5 separate regions of the Homo sapiens genome follow, and regions 2, 3, 4 and 5 are each linked to region 1. Evidence: promoter capture Hi-C in 16 types of primary human blood cells and fetal thymus (Javierre and others, 2016). All regions are on one chromosome and are shown on one strand. Each heading gives the region's core, a stretch centred on a gene start or on the middle of the fragment in contact. The rest is flanking DNA. Distances are from core to core; before and after follow the strand shown. Region 1 holds the start of BLMH (bleomycin hydrolase). Region 2 overlaps NSRP1 (nuclear speckle splicing regulatory protein 1). Region 3 overlaps EFCAB5 (EF-hand calcium binding domain 5). Region 4 overlaps CPD (carboxypeptidase D). Region 5 holds the start of GOSR1 (golgi SNAP receptor complex member 1).

Region 1 (2,700 bases), core at 128-2,627:
CAGTTTGTCCAGTGCCTAGTACATGTTAGATACTGAATAAAAATTTATGACTTGAATTGGGCAGGATGCTTGAACATCATTTTGTGAAAGGACCAGTGATTTCTTTCTGTATAATTTTCAGCCTCTTCTTTTTCAGATATTGAAAGAACCTCAGAATAGGATGGTTGATGGGCCCACTTAAGATAGTTGCTATGTTATAGCCCCAATTTTTAGCCGAGTCTCTCTAGGGACATAGAAACCGTGCTTTCTCAAATGACTGATTGGTGCCTGAGTATGGATTTTTCCAGATATCAGAGTTCCTTAGAACTGCGATGATTTTCAATCTAAGAAGACCTAGATTCTAGGTTACACACACACACACTCAACCTCATCGTTTTGAATAGCAGATACAGGGTTTCAGTGTTTTTGTTTTACTCTCTGTGGGTTCTATCCCAGCATCTTACTAAGGGCTGAGATTTCAGGGCATGAAACACGGAATCAACAAAAACAAGGTTTTTACAATCTCAAAACTTTGGGAAACTGTTGAGTTATCTTGAAAGCCTAGAGGGGGAGCATCAGTTAGTTTTGTAGAGAACTCGGCGAAACAATATTGATGCATACGGCTAGCCTCTGTCATCCTCCTGAGTTAAACCCAACGGGACATGCTGGACTATACAGGAGCCACTCGTGGACTCCGTGAAGACCAGATGGGTAGTGTTCTTGAAATGAGCAGATGTCTATTTGTAGAACTCTGGTAGTAGCTTTGGAGTGGGTGGGGAAGAGCTTGGTTCCCATTCCCCCTCAAAGACAATTATTTGCTTCTGATGAGAATCCAAGCAACAAGTTGCCATTGAGAATGCAGTGATTGGTCAGCAAACGAAGCCTATAGGAAGAGCCTTCGGGTGCATTCCTTGTGACATATCGACCCGTCCTAAGCCCGACGCTTAATTATGGGACCTCTCAGCTCCTCCCTCCCGCCTCGAGCTCCCTTTTGGCTTCTCACAAGGCTTCCTGGGGACGATTCCCCGATGCTAGAGTACTGGGGGTCTGGGCCCACAGGGAACCCGTCAGCCTCCCTCCTTGGAGCGGGCCTGATCCCGGGAGGGCGCCCGCGCGGCCCGGAGGCGGGAACCTAGGGGGAGAAGGCGCCGGCGCCGCCCTGGCGCGCAGACCATCTGTGCGGTCCTGCGCGGGGGCAGGCGCGGCCTCAGCCCCCGGGCGCTGGCGGACCCAGCGCGTCAGCTAGGCCGCCCCCGTCGGCCCTCCCCCGGGCGGGGCCAGCCCCGACGGCGCTGACTCAGCAACGCGAGGGGGGAGTTTTGTCCCTCCGCGGACCCCGTTTCTCCCAGCCTCAGCCTCCCCGCCGCCGCCGCCGCCGCCGCCGCCGAGCCGGTTTCCTTTTTCCGGCGCTCCGGGTGCGAGAGACAGGTCGGGCCCCCTAGGCAGCGAGCCGCAGCGCAATCCCGGCGCTCGCCCAAGGACCCTGGAAGCTACCGTTACCCCGCCGGGCAGCGTGGGCGCCATGAGCAGCTCGGGTGAGGTGCCGCCGTCCCCCGCCGCGGTCCTCTGGAGGAGCTCCGCGGTCCCCGTGAGGCCCGGCGGCGGGGAAGGCCGGGGGCTGGGACCCTTGGCGATGGCGGGGAGGGAGCTTTCGGGGCAGGCTGGATCGGCCTGGAGGGAGACAGCTCCTTGGAGGAGGATGCCGCTTATGGGTTTCCCCGCTGCAGCGGGCACCCCAGGATGCGCTTACGAAGTTAGATTCGGGACGCGGGAGCCCCAGATCAGCCCTTTCCCCCTCTTTTTGCGTTAAAATCCTGTTTGGTCTCCCAACAGGACTGAATTCGGAGAAGGTAGCTGCTCTGATACAGAAACTGAATTCCGACCCCCAGTTCGTACTTGCCCAGAATGTCGGGACCACCCACGACCTGCTGGACATCTGTCTGAAGCGGGCCACGGTGCAGCGCGCGCAGCATGTGTTCCAGCACGCCGTGCCCCAGGAGGGCAAGCCAATCACCAACCAGAAGAGCTCAGGTGTGGGCTTCCACTTCTCCCATACGTTCCTTGACCTTCCTGACAGCGTCCCATTTTGGTGTCTTATTTAAGAGTGGTCTTAAATTCGTACTGAAAGAACTGGTCGTAAATTCGTAAAGAATGAGGCACAGGTACAGGCAGGTCTAAGAACATTACCCATGTGGTTTGTTTTGCTGTTCTGTGGCTTGTTAGTACATGCGGTTAGAGTACAAAAGTGACATGTCCATGAGTATACGTTTGAGTGTAATTGACTATATTATGTTCCAATGCTGTGTGGTTTGTAGCCCGTGTCTTGGAGATGTATGGTCTTGGTCACAAAACAGAACATGTGAAAATGTTCATATCTTTGGAGGACTCCCCAGAAATGCCCTGAAGGCCCTATACTATGAAATAGAAAAGATACAATGTAATTACATTAAAATGTCATCAGATGTTACTTTTAAATATGCTTCTTGGTTACAACTGAAGCTAATGTGCTGATGGGCTCAGTTCCCACCAGTAGATCAGTTTGTAATACAGAAAAAAGTTCTGTTCTCATGCCTTGCTGGTCAAGAAGTCTCGTTTTGCTATCTGCTTTCTAGCACCACTCTCAGAAAAAACAGGTATAGTGAAAGATTGGATATCCAGCAATCTAAATAAGGAGCACATTCTCACAACAAAATTGTACTAAACGGATTTTTTAAAGTCTTT
Region 2 (2,700 bases), core at 138-2,637, 160 kb after region 1:
ATTGCAGTGGTCTGGAACCATACCCACAATATCAGTGAGGTATACCTGTGTATCTTTGAACTATCATTTCCATCTCTTCCTCTCTCTCTTCCCTGTCAAACTCTTCAAAATAAGATTACTAATTAAATTTTAAAAGTTACTATTCAGATGAGAGGACAATAAAAGACAGAGAAACTGTAGAGCTAAAGAAAATATATTGAAGACTAAAATAACACCAATAGAGCTAATAAATTAGAAACAGTAAGAAACAGAAAAGCTATAACTGAAACACTGACAAAAGTTTAATCTTAGTAGAGAGAAAAAGACATAGACTGAGTAATTTCCCTAAATACCTGTTTAATTTTCCTTATCCTGCTCTACTTTTTCACAGCTCTGTAATCTTCTAAATTCACATGTAACTTACTTATCTGTTATGTTAATTACTTATCACCCCCCACCACCACCACCTTGAGAATATAAGTGCCATAAAGGCAGTGGCTTTTGTTATGTTTCACTGGCACAGGGCAAGTGATCAATAAATATCTGTTGAATGCATTAATAAATGCATGACGATGATATGAAAGACAAAGATGATCCTCCAAAATGATAACCCAGCACATGGATGACAGTAAATTTCAATGAAATGAAGAAAAAGCTAAATATTTAGAGAAAAAGAAACAGTGTATTCCTGGAAAAAACAATTCAACATTATTTGCAGCAAGACACATTGAGTTAAAAAGGCTATATACTCTCCAGTAGTCCAAGCCAATTAAAAAAAGTCTAGAAGTAGGGATAAAAGAAACTATAGTGTTGTACTTCCTCATAAGAACATTAAGTACCAGAAAAAATCACTAATGTCTGTAAGATTTTGAAATAAATTGTTATTGTAGAAATATTACACCCAATCAAGTAGATATTTAAGTGACAAAAGCAATGGGCAAGCATTATTTAACAATCAAAAACTTAAGAAATAATGCCCCAATGAGCACATGTTGAAAAACTATGAAATTAAGTCAAAGACCTCAGAAATGGAAAACAATGGTTAAAAAGACTAGTGGACGCTGGGCATAGTGGCTCACACTTCTAATCCCAGTACTTTGAGAGGCTGAGGCAGGAGGATCATTTGAAGCCAGGGGCTCCAGAACAGCCTGGGCAACATAGTGAGACTCTGTCTCAACAAAAAAATAAAAAAAAATTAGGCAGGCATGGTAGTGCATGACTGTAGTCTCAGCTACTTGGGAGGCTGAGGTGGGAGAATTGCTTGAGCCCAGGAGGTTGAGGCTACAGTGAGCTGTGACAGAGCCACTGCACTCTAGCCTGGACAACAGTGAGTCCCTGTCTCAAAATGAAATATTTTAAAAAAGAAAAAGAAAAATAAGGAGGACAGAATTTTCTTGCCATCTCCCCACTTCTAATAGAATTGTCTTAGTTCCATCCTTTTCCTTTTCTCTCTTCTTGCTTTTTCACTCTTAGCCAGTATGTTAAGGATGAAATTTTAGCAAATTGCAAAATTACTTTAAATCCCTCACTGTTTGATATACTCGGTACCATAAATTTACTAGTAATTCAGTTTAATAGCATATGAGAAAAGTTCACAAATTCTCAGCCATCATTAAAATAACCTAAATTTCCCAACATTTTCACAATATGCTTTGTCTTATCTATGTACAACTGTCTTTTTATTTGAACTATACTAGACTATATCTACAGAAGTAAGGCATTATCTGATTAAAACTGATGAAAAACCACAACTAAAACATTTTATTGATTTGGATGTACTATAATGTTCAGACAGATTAAAATTTTAACTTTTTCTTACCAATAGTAAGCCAAACAGGCTTCCAGCTAAAATAAGATTAATTTTTCATTAGGAAAACCAAACCTTCAACTTACTTTTTCAAGAAAATTTTTAAAAAGATTAAAGAGGAGAAATATCAAGAAATAGTGAAAGGAATGGAAGTGTATACACTTATGTAATCCTGTAACTTGCTAATGCTTCTTACTTTGGGAATACACAATTATGGTTATCTTTTTTTTTTTAAGCACTCACTTCCTTGTATTCGTCAAAATTATAACAAAATAATAATATGATTTTGAAAAAAAACTCACACTACCATGCTAAAAAGTAATCATTTTCATTTATTATTTTTTACTTATCTGTGCACCTATAGCATTGTACAACCCTAAGTATTCAATTTTGTATCCTTATTTCATCTACCTCATGCTTTTAAAATGTCCCAATATTTTCTCTCCTAGTCTTCTATCAGATAAAATGTGTTATATCTTTTTACATTTTAATATGATTTGGAAACTAAATACACTATGGGAAATCCTTAAAATTCACCATAATTTTTCTTAAAAAATAGTTGAAAATACAGAAAAGTATAAAAAAAAAAATCATGCCAGGCGTGGTGGCTCACACCTGTAATCCCAGCACTTGGGGACACCAAAGCAGGAGGATCACTTGAGGCCTGGAGTTCAAAATGAGCCTGGGCAATATAGCGAGACCCCCATCTCTACAAATTAAAAAAAAAAAAACAAAAAAACCACTCATTGTCTGCCATACAAAGATAACTACCATTAATATGAAATGCTTTATTGTCTTTTTTCCTTTTATCTATAACAAATTTGTATATATTTTTTCACTAAATGTTATTTCATGATGAATGTGATAGCCGTAGTATTGCACACACTTTACTTACTCATGCTTTCACTGTTGAA
Region 3 (2,700 bases), core at 116-2,615, 180 kb after region 1:
AGCGAGACCCTGTCACTTAAAAAAATAAAAAAGAAAGCAAAGGAGAGAAAGTGGTCTGGATGGTCTACACTGTACAGTGTCATTGTTACCTATGAGCTATCAGGAAAGAGCCAATAACAAATTCAGTTAATCAAGTCCAAGCTTCTGAAGCATATGTAAGTATAAGTAAATAAATAAATCTATTAACAGCGAAATAAATGGATTTAGATATAAATCTGTATCTAACCTTCATCAGGTATAAATAACATCCTCCTCACTCAAAATATAAGCTCCTAAGGTTAAGGGACAGTATTTTACTTGAATGATTATTTAATAAATTTAACCGATCTGGCTTGTTTGGCTGCAAATTTTAAAGTAGTTTTCAAAAGACTGACAGCATGGTCATTAGCCTAGTAAGAAAGTTGGAAAGTGTGAGATTTCTAGGGTGCTGGCAAGGGCAATAAACCAGAAATTATGTGCTAGGTCCGCTCTGCCTCTTATGCCTGTTGTGAACTGGGCAACTCATTTATAAAATAAAATAGAGATAATATCAGGACTACCCACTTTATAGATTATTGGAAGAATCAAATAAGCTAGTATGCGAAAACACTTCAAGTTAAAGTGCCATGCAAATGTATGATATTTTTCATCAAGCTAGAAGTCATTTAGTTAATTTAATTTCCAGGATAACGGTTACAAACATGGCATTCTGCAAAATCTTTCCTTCCTTGCCACCTAAAATGCCATTTGTATTCACAGTGAACTCTGTAAACTTGCTCTGAAGCCATCAGGATATGTGGTTATGAGTTTAATATCTTCAAGAACACTGTTCCTTGGAATGTTGCTCTGAAGGCCCTAAAAAGCCCCCTTCCAAATATGAAACAGGCATATAGGTTAAAACTGGCATGTGATCATCCGAGAGAGGAGGACTGGTAATAACACTGCCCTCTTATCAGAAAAGGTTAAAAAGGGACGGCCAATCTCAAATTATAAGATATTTGGACACATCACATTTTGTCAATCTAATAAAGAAAATAAAGTTTAATTTCCCAAAATTTTATTAAAACTGGACTCTGTCATCAGATATCTATTGCAAAGATGAAATCTCACCACAGAGCAGTAAAGTTTGTCATAAAAACAAGCTTTAAACAAATATAAATTCTTTTTGTACTTTTGAACTGAAGAGGTTTTTATCATTAAAAAAGTGTCTTCTTTTTTCCATGAGTCATGGACATTTTCCCACAAGAATTTCTGTTCATTAAAATGACTTTTGAGTACCCCATAAATATGTACAACTACTATGTACCCACAAAAATTAAAAATTAAAAAGTTAAAAACCAAAAGCAACTTTTGAGTTGTTAAGGCAAGAGTATGGAGGCAGAGAGAGGGAAGAGGCGATGTTTAGATAAGTCTTTGAAAAATTAGAAAAACAATTCTCAGTCCATTTCTTAAAAATCTTTATTATTTGGTATTCTTTTGGTTTATCTTTATTATTTCGTATTCTATTTGGTATTCTTGTTTTCTAAATCCTCAGCTGTTACTTTGAACCTTATAAGAATGAAAAATAACTACCCAATCAACCATAACAGTTCCACAGCAGATACAAAGCTCAAACTGAAAGGAAGCTTTCAAATATATTCTATAACATACTTAAATACACTTGGCTATGGCTACCTTAGCTGGGTATTTTTTGGCTAAATTTCTTCTTAGGTAGCACTTTTGGGTTTAGAAAGTGCTGAGATAAATATTAGCAGCAGAAGACATTTATAGGTACCCCTTTCCAATGGAAAATATTTTATAGTTAACAAACAAAACTGATAACAAACAAAGGATCCTAAATACAGTATCAATTCCATTATCATCCATTATCACTTCTCTTGCAAACCTTCCCCTGGCATTTTTGCATACATATAATTGTCAGTCTTGGAGGGCAACGGAGGTGTAATACCACTATTTAGTTGTTTGGTTATCTTCATGAGAGCTGAACAGATGTGTATCCAGTGGTATAGATGTTCAATGACAACATTACCAAATTTCCATACTTCAGTTCGGGAATGATCTGCATCAGGAAAAAAAAAGAAAAGTAAGAGTGGAGAGTTTTGCACTTTACTATTAAAATTATAAGTTCTAATATTATGATTAAAGTTCATTAGATATGTTTTGAGTCAAAACCAAGCAGAATCTTGTGTAAATATGTAATTACAGGAATATGGATAAATTTTGGTATAGTCATACAATGGAATACTTAACAGCAGTTAACAAAGAATTAGAGTTATTTGTATTCATGAATAAATCTCAAAATATTCAATACAAAAAGTAAGTTATAGAATAATGTGTACTTTTGGGCACAATTAAACGGCTTTAAAACCTGCAAGATAGTATTATATTATTTATGGATTCATTAGCATATAGTAAAAATAAGAAATCATGCATGAAACCAATACCAAATTCATGATAGTATTATCTCTAGGGAAAGACGAGAAGACAGTGGGATCGAGGAAAGATAGAAATCCTCAACTGTTCCTATAATGTTTTCTTTAAAAAGTCTAACTCAAATATAGTGTTAAGGTTGGATATAGAATATAGCTTCATAATGACTATGCAGGTATTATTCTCTATACTTGCATGTTTGAAATATTTCCTAATTAAAAATTATTTAAAGCTATATAGTAACTGCACACCATTATATGTTTTAAGTTTTTTAAATTGAAAACTGTTAAA
Region 4 (2,700 bases), core at 51-2,550, 140 kb before region 1:
GTTGGAGAGCACACATATGGACTATAGCAAATTGCCGTGACAGTGTGACCACTCTAGGCTGTACTTGTAATATTGGTATGGAGAAAAGAGATAATGGTAATTACTGAGGACTGGAGGGCAAAGCAGTTATGTCAAAGGGGTGTACAAGACCCTTAGGAGAATCATTGAAAAGGTATGTCCATGGGTCTACCCTACAGAGAAAGGTAAATCAAATCAAAAGGGTTAATGGTCTAAGAAAACAAAGAGAAGATAAGGAACTAGAAGCCAAAATGAAGGCGAAAAGCAGAAATCATGAGAATGAGCATAGAATGTGATGAGAAAATATGCAAAATCCAGCCATTTAATTTTTATTTTGATGGTTGGGACACTATACATTCTCTTATTACTCCACGTATGTACTTCAAAAAAACATATATGTCCAAACAGAAAGCAATAATTCTCTAAGGTGAAATGAACAGCTGTACTCCTCTAGTAGAAACTCTGAACAATCTCACAAGATTCATTTGCAGAGGATGAGGGAATGGGAAAAGTGGAAGGATGGAGGACTGTGACTGGAGAGTGCAGAGTTACAGTAATAATATTCATTACCTATAACCAATAATAGTACCAATATAACCAATAACAATACTAAGTCAGTAGTAACACCAAACATTGAAACTAACAAGCTTAGTTTACAAGCCTCAACTTTTAACATGTTTTCTAAGACAATTTTTATTTTTTTGAGACAGGGTCTCAGCTTTGTCACCCAGGCTAGAGTATAGTATTGTGATCAAGCTCACTTCAACCTCAATCTCCTGGGATAGAGCAATCCTCCCACCTCAGCCTCCTAAGTAGCTGGAACAACAAATGCATGTCACCACAACCGGCTAATTTTTTTTTTATTTTTTATTTTTAGTAGAGGCAAGCTCTTGCTATGTTGCCCAGTCTGGTCTCAAACTCCTGAGAGCTCAAGCAATTCTCCTGCCTTGCCCTACCAAAGTGCTACGATTTCAGGCATGAGCCACCAAGCCTGGTCCTAAGAACGATTTTTAAATTAAATTTTCACACACACACACATTTTAACATTCCCGATTGTAAGAGTAATCCATGTTTATCATAGGAAGTTTGGAAAATACAGAAATTTCTGCCTGCTTTTCCTTGCTATATGTAACTACAGGATCTTAAATACCTTAGACTAAAGTTTGGCAATTTTTTCCTGTAAAAAACCAGAAAGCAAATATTTCAGACTTTTTAGATGCAAAAGTCTTTGTTGAAACTACCCAACTTTGCCCTTTGATCACTGGATTTTCCTTCTTTAGTTTGTTAATATAGTAAATTATACTGACTTACTTTGAAATGTTGAAGGAGAAAGCAGCCACACACAATATATAAAAATATAGCTGTGGCTGTGTGTCAATACAATTTTATTTACAAAAACAGGTGGTGGGCAAGATTTGGCTCCAGAGCTATAATTCATTAAGCCCTTATCTTGGCCTACTTTACTGGGCTTATAACTTATTTGTCAAATGAAATAAATTGACATGTATATGTTCCAGGTACTGTGCTAAAACCATAGATAAAAGGCCAATGGAGAAAGACATGTAGTGTATTCAAAAGTGAGGTGGGAAACAGGAGAAAAAGCTATTTTTCGGAAACAGCTGAAAAAGTCATGCTTTATTAACTATGGAAGCACTTGACCTGAGTCTTGCAGGACTTTAAAGCATATTTTTAAATAAAAGAATTAATTTTGTAACATTTTATATTCAAAGACAAGCCTACCTTGGAATAAGAAAGTGCTATTTGTTGGAACACAGCATCATCTGGTGATTTACTATATGTGGCAAGTCCTTGTTCATCATCATCAAAAGGGTAGTTAACCACCAAAGAACCTATAAGGGAAAAGAGGAAAATGTATCATGTTGTCTGTTTCAAGATGGATTATTAACATAAAGCTTTTCAGAATACTGCCAGAGAAGAGAAAACAATAAAATTTGCCAAGCAGAATTTCCTCAACAGAAATGAAAATTACACTAATTTCTTCAATTCAAAGTGAATAAGTGAGAAGATATCTTTCAAATGGCTAATTTTCTAAAGCCACAAAAAAAGATTTATAGTACTTCTACCAAACAGTCTACCTCAAAAAAATAATTAGCATCAATACGGAAAGGACTAGCAACAAAAGAAAAAAACAGATATACGGGATTCCATCAAAATCAAAAACTTTTATGCATCAAGAACATAAGAAAGAGAAAAGACAACCTATAGAATGGGGGAAAATGTTTTGCAAGCCTGATAAGGGTCCAGTGTCCAGTATTTAAAAACTCTTACAACTTAACAACAAAGACAAAAACTCAATTAAAAATTGGACAAAGGACTTGAACAGATATTTCTCCAAAGAAGATAGATAAATGGCCAACAAGCTCATGAAAAGATCCTCGGCATCATTAGTTATTGTGGAAATGCACACCAAAACCAAAATGAGGTCCTACTTCTCACCCACTAGGACAGCTATAATAATAAAAATAGAAAATAATAAGTGGTGGTGAGGATATGAAGAAACTGGAACCTCATACATTGCTGGCGGGAATGTAAAATAGTCCAGCCTCTGTGGAAAACAGTTTGGCAATTCCTCAAAAAGCTTAACATGGAATTATCATATGACAATTTCACTCCTAAGTGTACACCCAAAAGAACTGAATACAGGGGCTGCGTACAGTAGTT
Region 5 (2,700 bases), core at 91-2,590, 190 kb before region 1:
CCGTCTCTACTAAAAATACAAAAATTAGCCAGGCGTGGTGGCATGCATCTGTAGTCCCAGCTACTAAGGAGGCTGAGACAGGAGAATCGCTTGAACGCAGGAGGCGGAGGCTGCAGTGAGCCGAGATCGATAGCGCCACCGCACTCCAGCCTGGGCGACATAGCGAGTCTCCAAAAAAAAAAAAAAAAAAGTTTTCTAGCTGGTACACACATTTCAAATGGGCATTGTAATACATGTTTTAAACTATAAGCACGCTTTTCTGTGATTGGAATAATTGTCTTCTCTAGTAGGAAACATAAGTAAAAGCATTTTGAAAGTATGATAGGCAAATCTGGATAAATTTAGAATTGAGTTTCTTAGACCAAGGGGCTGATAGTGACAATACTGTGGTTTCTAGAGGCTTCAGTGTATAGCAATAAAAACAGGTCAAAGGAATTTGGAAAGTAGTTTCTATGCGGCTGTAAAGCAAAGAGACAGTTGGGAGAAAAAGGTGAGCTTTCTCTGCTCTTGTTGATCATCATAATCCACGAATGAGTTTTATGTAAGCTCACTTTATCCGACTATAGTTTCAGGAATTAAACAAATGCATTTGTCAAATCACAGGAAGGTTTTTTTGGTGGGAGAAGTATAGCAAATGTAACTGCAATTCACACAGGTTCTCTCAACTTTTTCAATAAAACCGATTCTAGACTCTAGAGCAGAAGGGTAAGTTATTTTCTCCTCCTTCAAACACCCAGTCCTGGAAGTCCCCAACCTGTAGTTGTCATGGAGACCCAATAAGAGACATTCTGTCTCCTATTCTCTTCATACTTCCTCCGACGGACCGGAATGCAAGTTCCTCCTTCTCTTTTCCCACTCAGTTTTCCAATAGTGACCTCAGCTCCAATGCGCTGACTCCTCCAGTCTCCGGGGCTCTGGATCTTCTCCCTCAACATTCGTTTCCTCTCAGAGTTCGTACCCCAAGCCCCTTCGTCCGAGTTCCATTACTCCCTCAACACAATTCTACCCAGGCGATTGAGAGCCCTCTTCCTCTACATCCCCGCTCTGTCCACTCTGCCCAACCCCTGCCCCACGTCCCGCTCACACGCCCCGGCCAGGCCAGACCCCTACCCCAGACCGTTCGGTATCCCCAAGGCCCCGGGGATCCCACTTAGGCAAGCCCCGCTGCTCAGCTCGGCCGCTCCGGGAGTCTGGTTCTTTCCTGTGCTGCTTCTCCCAAGATCTGTCCTCACTCAGCCCCTCTCACCCTCGTAGGACGCACCCGGAGGCCTTCTCGCCCTCACCTTCCCAGTAACTGCTGGTCCCTGCCGCCATCTTTGTCGTCCAACGTCAGCCGGGATAGGGGAGCAGAGGCGATGCAGGCCGGAAAGTCACCATGGTGCGTGTTTCCGCCTTGAGAGCCAGGGCCGACGGGATGCGAGCCTCCGCGGACACTGCCACCTGCTGATCAATTCGTTATCTTACAGCTTTTAAGTAGCGAGAGAGAAAAAACTTCGGCTTTAGCTCCTGTCTTTCATTCCCGCTTTCTGCGCCCCAAACCATCATCATCTCCCTCATCTCGGCTTATCCTTTCTCTCAGCAGGTGCCTACTTGACTGGGAGGAGAATCATCCTCAGGCAACTCCCTCAATTTCCCTCACCTTGTCTCTAATTTGTATCTTCAGCCAATTTCTTCCTTTCTCAGACATAGAGACCCTTTCTTCCCAGAGCCATTTCCTTCATCCTACCTCCCCGCCTGTGCTCCATCATCCACGTTCTTTGGCGTATGCGCTCTTCTCCACTGGCTGCTTTCCTTGTCTACAGCAGTTCTAGTCCCAGCCCTCTTTGTCCTTGTCAGCCGCCACATCTAGAAAGAGTGAGCTAACTGCTTCTACATGCTCTCGGCCTGAGCCCTCAACCTGATAAAATCTGCTGTCCAAACCCACACTTTATAGATACATAAATTATCACAGTCTACCGGTGCTGACTTAATTCTAGTGAAGTGTAGAAACCTTAATTCCTGTAAAGTTCTTTCCCCCACTCATTTATAATATAGTTGTTTTTAAGTATTTCCTCTGCATTCATTGAGGAGAACCACATCAGTGTTACAATATTTGCTTCAAGGGTCAGGCATAAGTTAGAGAATTCAAGAGAAGAGGAAAGCTTACTTGATTTATGCATATTTTACTCTTCTTCGTTCCTAGTGTCCCAAGATTCCTTTTTCTAATCGTTTCCTTTCTGTTTCAAGAATTTCCCTCAGCCATTTTTTTTTTAAAGAGTAGATCAGCTGGTGACAAATTCTATTAGTTTTTCTTCATCTGAGAATGTCTTGATTTCCCTTCATTCTTGGGGGATCGGATATTGTTGCCAGATATACAATCTGAAGTTGACAATTTCTTTCTTCAGCACTTGAAAAATGTGCCAATTCCTTCTGGCCTCCATAGTTTCAGATAAGAAATTGACTAAAATTGGAATTGTTTTTCCACTGTAGCTAAAATACATTTTCTCTCTCACTGCTTTCAAGAACTGTTCTTTAGTTTTCAGAAGTTATGATGTGCCTTGGTGTAGATTTCTTTGGATTTATCCTGTTTGGGATATCCTCAGCTTCTTGATTCTGACATTTATGTCTTCTGCCAAATTTGGGGGATTCTCAACCATTGTTTCTTCCAATACTTTTTCTGTCTCATACTGTTTCTCTTCTTTTTCTGGGAGTCTGATGACG

Evidence for each region. The method cuts DNA at HindIII sites, captures the fragments that hold promoters and counts their contacts. A CHiCAGO score of 5 or more calls a contact.
Region 2: a contact is called between a fragment that was not itself captured here and the fragment with the promoter of BLMH in region 1, in 4 of 17 cell types (activated CD4 T cells, megakaryocytes, erythroblasts and 1 more). The highest score is 6.0, in activated CD4 T cells.
Region 3: a contact is called between a fragment that was not itself captured here and the fragment with the promoter of BLMH in region 1, in 7 of 17 cell types (megakaryocytes, endothelial precursors, M2 macrophages and 4 more). The highest score is 10.1, in megakaryocytes.
Region 4: a fragment that was not itself captured here is called in contact with the fragment with the promoter of BLMH in region 1 in 1 of 17 cell types (activated CD4 T cells); the score reaches 5.0 in activated CD4 T cells.
Region 5: the fragment with the promoter of GOSR1 here is called in contact with the fragment with the promoter of BLMH in region 1 in 4 of 17 cell types (M2 macrophages, M0 macrophages, M1 macrophages and 1 more); the score reaches 7.4 in M2 macrophages.

Annotation. Positions count from the first base shown.
Region 1 is chr17:30,290,621-30,293,320 of GRCh38, reverse strand. It overlaps BLMH (bleomycin hydrolase), which reads left to right and starts at 1,377. Exons shown (of 12, transcript NM_000386.4): 1 at 1,377-1,514; 2 at 1,813-2,010. The coding sequence starts at 1,502. RefSeq lists silencers at 967-1,376, 1,577-1,646 and an enhancer at 2,097-2,156. The HindIII fragment of the contact is 8,040 bases long and covers 1-2,700 here.
Region 2 is chr17:30,128,737-30,131,436 of GRCh38, reverse strand. The region is part of intron 2 of NSRP1 (nuclear speckle splicing regulatory protein 1); the gene reads right to left. Among named protein-coding and RNA genes, the nearest start is that of MIR3184, 13 kb to the right of the region's middle. The HindIII fragment of the contact is 7,104 bases long and covers 1-2,700 here.
Region 3 is chr17:30,107,172-30,109,871 of GRCh38, reverse strand. It overlaps EFCAB5 (EF-hand calcium binding domain 5), which reads right to left. Exons shown (of 23, transcript NM_198529.4): 23 at 1,420-2,038. The coding sequence ends at 1,848. Among named protein-coding and RNA genes, the nearest start is that of NSRP1, 8.3 kb to the left of the region's middle. The HindIII fragment of the contact is 483 bases long and covers 1,124-1,606 here.
Region 4 is chr17:30,430,940-30,433,639 of GRCh38, reverse strand. CPD (carboxypeptidase D) reads right to left here. Exons shown (of 21, transcript NM_001304.5): 8 at 1,759-1,868. Among named protein-coding and RNA genes, the nearest start is that of GOSR1, 45 kb to the left of the region's middle. The HindIII fragment of the contact is 1,266 bases long and covers 668-1,933 here.
Region 5 is chr17:30,476,048-30,478,747 of GRCh38, reverse strand. It overlaps GOSR1 (golgi SNAP receptor complex member 1), which reads right to left and starts at 1,340. Exons shown (of 9, transcript NM_001007025.2): 1 at 1,284-1,340. The coding sequence starts at 1,314. RefSeq lists enhancers at 1,077-1,296, 1,447-1,596. The HindIII fragment of the contact is 3,772 bases long and covers 1-2,143 here.